Regions from separate parts of the Homo sapiens genome. Here region 2 is linked to region 1. Evidence: promoter capture Hi-C in 16 types of primary human blood cells and fetal thymus (Javierre and others, 2016). All regions are on one chromosome and are shown on one strand. Each heading gives the region's core, a stretch centred on a gene start or on the middle of the fragment in contact. The rest is flanking DNA. Distances are from core to core; before and after follow the strand shown.

The links. Contacts are between HindIII fragments. The CHiCAGO score rates a contact against its expected background, and 5 or more counts as called.
Region 2: a contact is called between a fragment that was not itself captured here and the fragment with the promoter of RPS6KA6 in region 1, in 1 of 17 cell types (M1 macrophages). The highest score is 5.3, in M1 macrophages.

Annotation. Positions count from the first base shown.
Region 1 is chrX:84,185,537-84,192,325 of GRCh38, forward strand. It overlaps RPS6KA6 (ribosomal protein S6 kinase A6), which reads right to left and starts at 2,663. Exons shown (of 22, transcript NM_014496.5): 1 at 2,283-2,663. The coding sequence starts at 2,363. The HindIII fragment of the contact is 4,367 bases long and covers 1-3,974 here.
Region 2 is chrX:84,708,220-84,715,008 of GRCh38, forward strand. No RefSeq gene overlaps it. Among named protein-coding and RNA genes, the nearest start is that of HDX, 210 kb to the left of the region's middle. RefSeq lists an enhancer at 4,827-5,328. The HindIII fragment of the contact is 3,419 bases long and covers 1,593-5,011 here.

The sequences.
Region 1 (6,789 bases), core at 1,413-3,912:
TCAAAGGTTAACAACTGTCCATGCAAGCAAGACAGGTAAAAGATACAAAAAGACTCCAAAATATATGGTAGTGTCTATAATCTTTAATCTTACCAGATTCAACACACACAGAAATGGACGGAAATTATTTCTTTTGACATTAAAGTTAACAGATTCTTACCTACATTTTCTTTAAGGATTCTAGCACATTTTAAAAATATATATTCTACAACAAAAACACTCTTAGTCCTAAAATTATCACAATTGAGGGTTGTAGAGCTTGTACTCAAAATTAGCATTTTTAAAGCCAACATCAACAAATTTGTAATTAAAATATAAATTATCAAAAGTAAACTTGTTTACTTCTTATCAAAAGAATATAATTAAAAACAAACAAACTCTTCTAAGTACTAAGTGGGTCTGTTCAAATGTAGCATTTAGTTTTCACCTATAATATTTTTTATTAAGTAACTTGCAGGGTTAAATCTAACCAATCATAACTGTTTTAGAGAAAGAAGGCAGAAATACTATCTTCACCACATTACCTTCACCTTTCGTTTTACTTCATAGGGATTAACAATTTCCACTCGAGTATTTTTCCAAATTGCTGAGGTAGAGAGACCCATTGTTAAATCTCTACAATACCTAAAACATACTGCAAACAATAAAAAAACCATATGTGGTAATTACAATTTAAAACATACTACATTCAAAGTTAACAGAAATAATAAAATAGTAGGCATGCAAAAGGATTCCCACCTCCCATCCCATCCTTATATCAAAGCATTTAACTGTTTTTATAAACTAAATGCCTATAAGTTCAGTAAGTTACATACATGAATATAACAAAGTTCCTCTCCCCTTCAATAGACTTGCTAGACAATTGTGCAAACAGTTAGCATTCCCACATTTCAACAAGAAAGGAACGCCTATTCATTTATCTTGTTCTTACGAGATGTAAAATATTAAAACGTATATTGGAATTGCTTGGTTTACTAGTAAAATATTTCCTGTAAGTATAGAGGGTTCAGATTTAGGGTACTTCTGAATTTATTTCCACTATATTCCTTACCACATGTTATTCTAGCATGTAATCTTAACCCCAGTTTAGTTGATAAATAACAAAAAAATTTAAAGAAAAAAAAACAAGGTAATCATACAACAGCCAAATGTGTATTTTTTTTAAATGGAGCAAGTACTTGAAGACAAAGTTGCACCCTTTAGATGTCGAGGATTGAGAGTCTTACCTCAAAATATCCTACTGTGAATCAATTTCACCAACTATTTTTAGGAGGTGTATGGTGGCCTCTACTGGAGTAGTACGCAGTCGATTAAGTTATCAGAAAAGGATCCAACTTTCTATCACAAAAGACACGTTTTTGTGTTTAAATGCTGCCCGCTTTTATAACAACAATAAAAACAAAGCACCTGTGTACATCTAAGTTCTCACTGCACAGCTGACCAAAGCCCAACCAGAACAGTTTCAGAGTAAGAAGAGTGGGAAGAGAGGTGAACCAAAGTATTTTGGTTGAACCTCGCTAAGTCTTACCAAAGATTCGACTTATTTATAAGGGCTGGGGTTTACTTTGCGTCTTCTTTTACAGACCAACGGGGCAGGGACAGCGGTTGTGGAAAGGAGAAGGGGTGGAGCAAGAGTGCAGTAGAATCAAGGGGACCTGAGAGGAAGCAGTAGAACATCACCTGAAACCTGGCGACTGGAGATAGGTCGCCAGTGTATCTCGACATGGGTCATTACAAGGAACCATAACAAGCCACAGAGAAACGAGAAAGCTGTTACCAGGGAACACTCGTGCCTATGTGCAAATGTCCCCAGAGTTACTTAGTCACCTTGGTGTGTTTGTTGCACTGGGTTCGTAAAGCGTCCGGGGTTCAACAGCGAGCTGGAGTCCGCAGCTGTCCCCCAAAATGTTCCCAGCCAGCAAACTAGGCGCGGCGGAGAAAAAGGGACGCGCGGAGTCAGGCACAGCACCCCGCCAGTCCCCCAGTTCCCCTTCGGGTCGGAAAGTGAAGAAACTTAGTCACAACAACTCTGGCGTGGCCCGCCAGGCAGGCGCTCCGCCCAAGGCCGAGCCCGGGCCCAGGCTGCACTCACTCCGCAAGCCCGAGCCCGCCGTCTCATCCCCGCCCGCTCCCCAGCGAAAGGGCAGTGGAGGCAGCATCAAGGGGGCTTGCCCGGGAGCCCGCTTCCCGGCCCTACGCCTCTCCTCTCTCCGTCCCCAGCCAAGGTCTTGAGGGGAAGGAGGCGGGGGTTGGCTCCAGCCCGTCTTGGCCACCACACTAACCTCGCCGCTGCTCGCGCCGCCGCCGCTGAACACTTCCATTTCTCGGTCCCAGGGCTCGTCCTGAGGAGCGAATGGTAGCATCTCCCCTTCAGGAGCACTCAAACAGGAGCTGCCGCCTACCGCTGGCGCGGCCGCGCATCCTGTCTATTGAACTGGCCCGCCGCCGCCGCCGCCGCCGCCGCCGCCGCCGCGACCCCCAGCCCCGCCTTCAGCGAGCGCTGCCCTCGCCGCCGGGTCTCTCAGAGGCTGGGAGCTGGGGGTCGCCGCCGCCGCCGCCCGGTGATTCCCATAGAGAAGACAACTCTGTGCTGCCTCTCCAAGAGCTGCCGCTCGGCTCGCGCTCACCACTGCCACCACAACGACAGCCGCTCGGTGGTGACTCCCCCAACACCCCACTTCCTCGGGTCCCCTCCCCGCTCCCTGCTCTGTCAATATGGCGGCAGCGGCGGCGTTACCTGTGCGGCGCCTGGACCCCCCCACGGCGGCGGCACAGCGGCGTCACCCAAACGTCAATGGAGATTCCCCAGCTTGGGGTGAAGGGGGCGGGATAGAGGGGCGGGGTGGATGCGGGGGACCGCGTGGTGGGTGGTGGGATAGAGGGGAGGGGGGCGTGCTGGGCTGGGGAGGCGACTGAACAGTAGTAAAAGCCCCTGCTAGCGCCTCGGTAAACCTGCCCACTCCACGGAGCATGCGCAGCGCTCTTCACACATGCTCAGCAGGCCCTCTCAAGTCCACGGAGCAGCATTGCTGGCGGGCGGCAGGATTCTCAAAAAGGATGCTGGAACTGGGGGACCCTCCAGAGCACTTGAGGAATCAGGGTAAGGGTAGGACTCCAAGAGTATCTCTTTGCAGGGCTCACGAAGAGCAGGTGTCTTATATGCCAAACCACGCCCATTTCGATACTTAGTGACAAATACTAGGGCAGGGATTTTAGTACATCATACATTATCCTCCTAGAAGGTAAAGGCAGGATAACCCCCATTTAAAAAAATAAATATACCTGTCCTCTCTAGCCCCCACCTTACTTGTCCCTCTCAGGATGCTCCTGCTGGTTGCCTTCACACTATTGATAACACACAATGTTTCTCTTCACACATGCACACACACAGGCAAACATATGCCACTTAATGAACTCCACTTGTGGCAACAAAGGCATGATTCCGAAGCTAGCCCATCCTCCAGCCCCCTCTGAGAATGTTGGGTCTGTAGTGACAATAATCATAGTTTTTAGTACCTTCTTCAAAGCGAGCTTTACTACTTCGCTACTCTAAGCCACACATTGTACTGGGAGCTGGCGATATAACAGAGATAAAGTATAATCTTATACGGGGGATAATCAAGATGCTTCTCATCAAAACACTTCAGAGCTGAAAGTTTAAAAGTTATTCCACATTTGACACTTCAAAGACTTAAAAGAGCAACTGTAACAGCGGCTAAACCAACTCAGGACCTTGGAGAGGTTTCTAACGTTCATAAAAGGCACACCACCCCCTTTACCCTTCTACACCTAGGGCTGTTGACCTATGCCCTCCATTTATTTCATCATCTGGTCTCAAGAGCTAATGAAGCAAAGCTGGCCACAGAGATTGCACTGAATTACAAACAAGGATAACTGATAATGTCCTCTCACTTACTCTGCTGAAAATCTCGAGGAGAAAGTGAGCTTAACGAACAGGGTTCTCTAAAAGTCAAAGCTTCGAAAGTAGTGGGTGCATGGGGCTATAAATCGTGAAAATGTGTGAGAGTGTGTGTGTCTGTGTGTGCACGCACACACCCATAAACTCATATTTGGCTGAACTGACAGTATTAACTAGGGCCAACTTTTTTTCTTTTTCTTTTTTTTTTTTTTTTTTTTGAGACAGAGTCTCATTCTGTTGCCCAGGCTGGAGTGCAGTGGCGCGATCTTGGCTCACTGCAACCTCTGCCTCCCGGGTTCAAGCGATTCTTCTGACTCAGCCTCCCGAGTAGCTGGGATTACAAGCGTGCGCCACCACGCCCGGCTAATTTTTGTATTTTTAGTAGAGACAGGGTTTCACCATGTTGGTCAGGCCGGTCTCGAACTCCTGACCTTGTGATCCGCCCACCTCAGCCTCTCAAAGTGCTGGGATTACAGGCCTGAGCTGCTGTGCCTGGTACTGCCAACCTTTTGAGCGCTGGGTCTCATCCATCCCTTCTTGCCTACTCAAAGGCTTTGTTCTGCAACCCGCCCCCCCACTAACATCATCTATTTTTTTCTCTCTACTGGATCTCTCCCGTCAGCAAAAACATGTTATTGACAGCTTGCTTGAACACTTGCTGGCATTTGATGTAAGTTCATGACTTACTCTTTCTTTAAACATTTTCTTTACTTGGCCTCTGGAACGAAATAATGTTTGTTTTTCTCCTACATCATTGTTTCTCTTATACATCTTTCTGTCTCCTTTACTGGATCATCCCTCCTCTTCCCAATTCTGCCTATTGGAACTTCAAGGTTCAGTCCCACCCTCTTTCTTTTTCAGCGTTCTAGGTATTCCCATATCCCATCCATACCTGATATGGTTAGGCTTTGTGTCCCCACCCAAATCTCATCTTGAATTGAATCCCCATAATCCCCATAATCCCCATGTGTCAAGGGAGGGACCAGGTGGAGGTAAGTGAATCATGGGGGTGGTTTCCACCATGCTGTTCTCATGATAGTGCCTGAGTTCTAACAAGATCTGATGGTTTTATAAGGCGCTCTTCCTTCCTTTGTTGGGCACTTCTTCCAGACGCCATGTGAAGAAGGTACCTTGCTTCCCCTTTGCCTTGATTGTAAGTTTCCTGGGGCTCCCCAGCCATGATGAACTGTGAGTCAATTAAACCTCTATTTTTTAAATAAATTACCCAGTCTTGAGCAGTTCTTTATAGCAGTATGAAAACAGACTAATACAATAAATTGGTACCAAGGTAGTGGGGTGCTGCTATAAACATACTGGAAAATATGGAAGCGACTTTCAAACTATGTAACAGGCAGAGGTTGGAACAGCTTGGAGGGCTCAAAAGAAGACAGGAAGATGTGGGAATGTTTGAAACTTTCTAGAGACTTGTTAAATGGCTTTGACCAAAATGCCGATAGTGATACAATGAAGTCCAGGCTGGGGTGGTCTCAGATGGAGATGAGTAATTGTTGGGAACTGGAATAAAGGTGACTCTTGGCTATGCTTTAACAAAGAGACTGACGGCATTTTGCCACTGCACTAGAGATCTGTGGAACTTTGAACTTGAGAGAGATCAGTTAGGGTACATGATGGAAGACATTTCTAAGAAACAAATCATTCAAGAGGTGACTTGGGTGCCCTTGGAAACATTTAATTTTATGCATTCACAAAGAGACGATTTGGAATTGGAACTTATGTTTAAAAGGGAAGCAGAGCATGAAAGTTTGGAAAATTTGTAGCCTGACGATGTGATAGAATAGAAAAACCAATTTTCTGAGGAGAAATTCAAGCTGACTGCAGAAATTTGCATAATTAACGAGGAGCCAAATGTTAATCGCCAAGATAATGGGGAAAATGTCCCTAAGGCATGTCACTTTAAGATCTCATTATATACAAAGAAAAGTTGGCCTGCTAATAACAACTTATTAGTCTATATAGTTGAACATAATTAAAATGCCTTTTATTCTGATGCCCTGTTAAGGAATCAGACTATGAAAATGGGCAAATTTGGAGGTGTCTACAAAAGATTATATATGTGTATATATATATATCCATATATATATATCCATATATATATATCCATATATATATATATCCATATATATATCCATATATATATCCATATATATATATCCATATATATATATCCATATATATATATCCATATATATATATCCATATATATATATCCATATATATATATCCATATATATATATCCATATATATATATCCATATATATATATCCATATATATATCCATATATATATATCCATATATATATATCCATATATATATATCCATATATATATATCCATATATATATATCCATATATATATATCCATATATATATATCCATATATATATATCCATATATATATATCCATATATATATATCCATATATATATATCCATATATATATATCCATATATATATATCCATATATATATATCCATATATATATATCCATATATATATATGGATATATATATATATATCTTACACACATACCACAGAGAGAAAGAGAGACAGAGAAAGGGAGACAGAGAGGCAGAGTATTCATTTAGACTGAGAACACATGCAACAAGTGATAGATTTCTAGGTTACCTGTGGTCAATAAGTCAGATATAAGCAAGTTGAAATTAGGAAAATAGGTAGACATTGAAATGGGCAGAGTTTTTGCCCAGGGTATCATGACACCTTTGGTACACATGGTCTAGTACCCTGGATAGCTCCCTGGAAGATAATTTGATTTGAGTCAAAGCCTGGCCTCAAAAAGAGAGCCTTTTTTGGACTCAGAGTCCCACCCCTCACTAGGCTTCTGAATATT
Region 2 (6,789 bases), core at 2,052-4,551, 520 kb after region 1:
GGCCCAGTGTAAGGCAGGGCTGACTTGATAGTCTTGATAGTAGGATATGTAGGGGAAGGAGTTGGGGTGTCTGTTTCTCGTATTTGCTCTTGGATGGGGGAGGCTGAGGAATCTTTGGTGGAGGGCTCTGGAGCAGACAATGGAGCATAGCCAGGATGGTTTTCTCTATTCTACAGGCCTTACAAAGATCAGAGTTTTCCCTCAGGGCCATGAAGGCTTGCAAGTAGGGGATCTCTGACAATTTGCCCTGACTTCAGCAGAAAGAGTCAAATGGTGGATGGTATTAAAATCCAAACTTCCTACTTCTGGCCAGGCTTCCTGGTCTGATAGTTCATAGGATAGAGGAGATATCACCCCACTTATTCCTATGATAACCCATAAAGGTGAGGCATTCCTTGCCTTTGCCTAGGTAAGGCACCCTGTGCCTCTACCTATTACCCATAAAGGTGAATCATCCCTTACCTTTGAGGGGCTCCAGAATCAGCATAGGGCTCCAGATGCCCAGTCCCTTAGGTCCCCCTTTTAATCACATAAGCAACAAAGGAAGCCCCAGGAGTATTTTCTGTCTGATTTCTCAACAAACAACAAGAAGCACCTGAGGGCTTCATGGTTTGGCAATAATGGCCTTATAAGACAAAAAAAAAAAAAAAGAAAAACCTCCCCAAGGCCCATAAGAGACCCTAGATGTAAAGAGATACGGAAGAATGAGTAAGAGGGCCGCAGATGGCTGTCCAGAGCAGTTGGACGGCCTGTTTAAGGAACCATAAAGTGAAGTGTTTTAGAAGAGTATTCAACTGGAGAAGGACTGATAGTAAATAAAGGATGCCTTTAAATGAGGATCGTGCCAGTTTTGGCCCCAGTAGTGAGAAAGGAGGTAAGAGAAAGGGTGAAGGTGAACTGCATTCGTGGGGAAAAAATAAATATACAGTTCAAAGGAGGCATATAGGGAATTTCAACTCCCAGCAGTAATGTAAACACAGCATGACCCAGAAGAGCAGGCCCTGCAAGGGGTTTGCATGTGGAGGAGGTATTCAAGAAAGCCCCTCCATGGGCAAAGAGACAGCAATGAGTAGGTGGACTGATTTGTGATATTGATTACCTGCAGGGGCATATTTTGTCTGGGAAATAAAATGGAGTAAAAGGGAAGGAAAATAGCCAACTCAAAGGAATATGGTAGTTTTAGTTAAAATATATAGAATTCTCTAGTCATTGCATGGCCTAGGCCATTCCCCGCCAACAGGTCAAGCCTCCTGTCAGGGAGAATTACGGTAACTTAGATCTGCATGATGTGGTCTTTAAGTCCTCCCACCTCCACTTGCCACCTTTCTGGGTGAGCTGAAAAATCAGCCAGAGGGAGCAAAAGTTACTGTAATTGAAGGGAATTGTACTGGGGAGTTGAAAGTGAGCAGGAGAAGGAAAGCCTCATTTTAAAGTAGCAAGAATTGCGTTAGAATTAGAATAGTAAAGAGGAAAAAATGTCAAACTCTATAAAATATTTGAAGAGATTTATTCTGAGGAAAATATGAGTTACCATGGCCCCTGGCACAGCCCTCATGAGACCCTGACAACATATGCCCACTTGGTCAGGGTGAAGCTTGGTTTTATACATTTTAGGGAGTCATGAGACATCAATCAAATACATTTAAGATATGCATTAGTTTGGTCCAGAAAGCCAAGACTACTCGAAGTGGGGGCTTCCAGGTTATAGGCAAATTTAAAATTTTTTTCTGATTGGCAATTGGTTGAAAGAGTTATTATCAATGGAAAGGAATGTCTGGGTTATGACAAGAGGCTGTGGAGACAAAAGTTTTATCATGCAGATGAAGCCTACAGGTAGCTGACTTCAAAAACAATAGATTGTAAATGCTTCTTATCAGACTTAAGGTCTGTGTTGATGTTAAATGCTTGTCAGCTTTTCTTGAAATCCAAAAGGGAGGAGGGCATAATGAGGCATGTCCAACCCCGCTTCCCATCATGGCCTGAACCAGTTTTTCAGGTTAAATTTAGAGTGCCTTGGCTGAGGAGGGAGTTCATTCAGATGGTGGGGAGGGGGAGGGCTTCAAATTTTATTTTTGGATTACGTAGGAAGAAGCAGAGGCAGTCTAATGGGGGTCTGAAATTTCTCCTGGCACTTACCTCAGAGAACCCTGCTTGGACTAGGCAAAGTCCTGGGTTTCAGCACCAAGGAATATTACTGAGGAGAGCTGATGTCCCAGTACTTCTCTAAACTTAGAAGAAAGATTTCAACCAACAGATAGCACAAAGATAGCAGAGGACTTTATTGAAAAGAAATATAGTGTGAAAAGCATATTGCAGGAAAAATTAAGTACACTCCAAGGAAGGAGCAGGCTGATCCTGCAAAAAACAGCGCTGAGGGTCCCGTGCAGGGAGTTTTATCATGTCAGATTTCTTCAAATTCCCTCCTCTGTCTCAAGTCCCCACCTCTGTCCTTTGTCTAGTTTTCACACGCCTGCCATAAGTCCCTACATGCCTGGGTAGTCTCTACACAGGCTTGTGGGAGCCGCTCTTACTGTTGGTTAATGAGCATGCACGAGCAGGTGATTAACACAAATCCTTCCTGATGGAGGCCCTGCTCATTACTGCCAACCCAGGAAGGTTGTAGAATGGTCAAATCCATACCTATTGCAAATGAATATCTACTTGGAATTTCCTTCTCTGTGCTAATCTGTACTTGTGGTGCCAGGTTTCTCATAGGAATGTCCCTTTTGTCCTTATCAGCATGTAGCTAACAATATTCTGACATTTTAACTGGAGAGTGAATGATTATTAAGAGTTCGTGAATCTGTGCCTTTATGCAAGATAAAAAGCTCTCCTAGTACTTTAAGATGGCTTTTCAATGTAGATAAATAATTGGTCTGCATGAAATGCTGAGACTTTAGAGGCTTCTCTTTGTATTTTTAACATTGTCAAAGTCAAAAGGTAGTTTTCCCCTATGGAAAATTGTGATTTAACTGAAAAAGGAATTTGTAAGTTGCATAAAAAAAGATGCTCTGTGAATCTTCTCATTTGGACTGAAAACAATAATAATCCAATTAACCTGTAAATGCTACACATGGAGGAGCCTTTTCACATTAAAAGACCTTGTGAATGCTGAGCCATCTAAGATGTTTTCCTCTTACACCTAAAAGCTGCTTTTAAGAGATGCCAACTCTTAAGTGGCATCTTAAGAGGCATTCCTGGGTGTTTCTTTCTGTGTAGGTAACTCCTCTTCTTCTCACTCACATTTGACTAAGTGCCCACCCACTCCAGCATTAGAGATGTTATTAATATGAAAATTTTGGGTGCCCCCTCGGGCGTGAGCCTTCCAAGACATTTTTTCTTTTTTTCTACTAGGAGTTTCCCCTCCTGTTCATATCTAGCTATCTACATGCTCTAACACTTTGATATGAATTTTTAATTAATGCTTTTTACTTTAATAGATTTCACACATATTAAAATTTTTATTAGGATACAGCTCTTTAAGTTTTATATATTAAGCAAGAGTCGATTTCAATTCATGATTTTGCATTTTAATCAAGAATGCAACAAAAAAGTTCCATAATTGAACATAAACCTTGCTTGTAGACTATTTGGCAACTATAAATTCATTAACATTCATTTTTCTCTGAAGCGTCCTTTCCAGTATTTTTGTTAATACTGTAATATGACTCATTAACTATGAAAGGTTGAAAACATTGTATTACTGATAGACACGCTGAGAATCACTAGTTCAAATGGTTGTTTGCTTAAAAGACTATATGGCCATAGATACCTAGGTAAATAGAAAAAAGTAAGGAAATAATCATATATATTCATATTCATATATGTATATATGGAAAAGGAATAAATAAATAAGTTTAAGAGAAAGTAATATCATAATAGCATTTATTCTTTGGAGTATAGCTAGAAATACTTTCTTACATTTTCAGATCTTTGGTCATTTTAAGTAGGACTAATCTTCCATATATTATAGTTCAGTTTGACAAAATATATATGAATAAAAGAGATTTTGATAAAGAGTGATGATGACATTAAATGAAGAAGTGTTTAATTTACATCATGTCCAGTCCTCCAACTTACAGGGTTCAAGTTGTTCGGTAAAGCATGTAAACCCAAAAAGGAAAGTTTTAGTTGGTAAGAAACAGGAATGATTTTTATTATTGACTGACTTTGTAGCCTCCTCTCTTTAGATGTGAGCTACACATTTCTACTCTTCTGGAACCAGGGAATCCATCCTTAAGTTGTTCCCTCATTCTCTTGGCATCTCTTAAAAGCAGCTTTTAGGTGTAAGAGGAAAACATCTTAGATGGCTCAGCATTCACAATGTCTTTTAATGTGAAAAGGCTCCTCCATGTGTAGCATTTACAGGTTAATTGGATTATTATTGTTTTCAGTCCAAATGAGAAGATTCACAGAGCATCTTTTTTTATGCAACTTACAAATTCCTTTTTCAGCTAAATCACAATTTTCCATAGGGGAAAACTACCTTTTGACTTTGATAATGTTAAAAATACAAAGAGAAGCCTCTAAAGTCTCAGCAATTCATGCAGACCAATTATTTATCTACATTGAAAAGCCATCTTAAAGTACTAGGAGGGCTTTTTATCTTGCATAAAGGCACAGATTCATGAACTCTGAGTCACAAAAGGCTTTGGAGCTCGTCTAGTTCAGAGGTTGGCAAACTTTTTCCATAAAGGACCAGATTGTAAATATTGTAGGCTTTGCAGGCCAAGAGGCAATGTCCTCAATTCTTGAAGCAACTGTTCTCATTCGTGGACTAATAGGCTTTTTTACATTTTAGTAATAAAAATGTAAAATACATTCTATGCTCTTGGGTCATACAAAAATAGGTGGTGAAATGGATTTGGCCCATTGGGCGTAGTTTGCCAGCCCCTCAAACTAACCCACTCTTTCTTAAACTGGGCTGTATTTACTTGTGCTTGTTAAAAATACCTAGATAATCTGGCTTCTTTACTTGGCATTAAATCGCAGACAAACATTATTATTCTGAAGCTTTCTCAAAGCAAACCTGTAGGGAAATATACAATGTACAATGATGGAGATAGTTTACAGACAAAGGAGGACCATTGAGGATTCAAGTTCCCTAAGTAGTGAGCTTTATTTCCTTTAGAAGGTAAATGGCTCCTTGCCATTTTCTCCTTCCCTCTCCTGTATCTCCCTATTTAAGCCTTAAATTCCTTAAAATTTTGCAAATTGCATGGTATAACTTTCTTTGCATGGAATTGCATCACAGATTAACATTAGTTAGATACATTTTTCCAATAAAAATTACGAGAAAAAACTCTTTATAAATTCTAATATAGGGCATTAATAGAAGCTTTTTTTTAAATTTTTACATTCCACATGAACCTTGGAGTACACTTATTGTCATCTATTGAGCTCTGAGGCCTAAATGCCCCATGAGTCAATTTATTTCAAGACAATGGATAGTTAGAATGCAGCTGTATATTATAGGCATGTGGTCATTGCTCTGATGTCACTTCATCAGGAAATGTTCTGTGTAATGAATTTCATCTAAGTGGCTGCAATAATTTGTTAAGATTATAGAACAACACACACACACACACACACACAGCCCACCACCCCAAAATGACAACTTAACAGTACTATATAAGATGCAGTAAAATGGCAGATACAAAGGAGAGATCAGGATATTAACCTTTGGACAGAGCTTTGCAGCCTTCACTGAAAATCAGTTTAATGTAAAATGCGAACCTGTAAATCAGTTCTTTGAAGAAAAAAATGAGCAACTGCCTAGAAAAAGGGCACACTTTATTATAAATTCATTAGGTGGAGACATTTATTTAAAACTTTATTTGAGTTTAGGTTTCACAGCAATTTTCTCTCTCAATAAGAACTTAGCACTGCACAGAATTCCAGTTCTCAGGAAAATAGTCTTAGAGCTAAAGAGAGATTAGATTTTATAGAGTTTTAATTAATAAATTTATAAATATTGTTTCTCTTTTGATGTTAACTGAAGTTAAATGTTTAGAAAAAAGAATAGTTTATTTCAAAAGTGCAACTTCTGGAAAGTGGTGTTACTAGGAATTTTCTGGTACTTACAGTCTCTGGTACTTTATATCATCTTTGAAATTATTCTAGCTAAAGAAAATATTTATTTTTGTGTTCCAAAAGGCAGACATAAAGCTTTAATATAGCCAAGAGTCCCCAAAGCTTCAGGCAGTATGGCAATCTAAATGACCAGTGTGAATTCCATATTCACTGTATTTTCTGTTATATTTTTCCCCATGGAGTGTTAAAATGCACAGCTGCTGTAGGTTATTCTGTAAAGAGTAGAAACATCTGTATAGTTCCTGAAGAGGCCAAGTGTCCTGATAAATCAAACACATAAAAGAATATTAATTACCAATTTATGAAGGAAGATATTATTTGATTAAGCATAAATTGTGTCCAGTTAAATAAAATTTGCTTGCGTTTTTCCTTGTCCCTTACTTTTTGTCTTGACTTCTAAAATAATGAAAACTAGTGATAGAGAAGTCATGATTGAATAGCTATTTCTATGATTTTGGAATAGTAGTCAGATACCTTCTTAGTATGTACACTTTATAATTTTTTTTTAGGTTCAAGGGTACATATGTAGGTTTGTTATATAGGTAAACTGCATGTCATGAGGGTTTGCTGTACAGAAGACTTCCTCACCCAAGTAATAAGCATAGTACCAGATAGGTAGTTTTTTGATTCTCTCCCTCCTCCCACCCTTCACCCTCAAATAGGCCTCAATGTCTGTTGTTCTCTTTGTGTCCACGT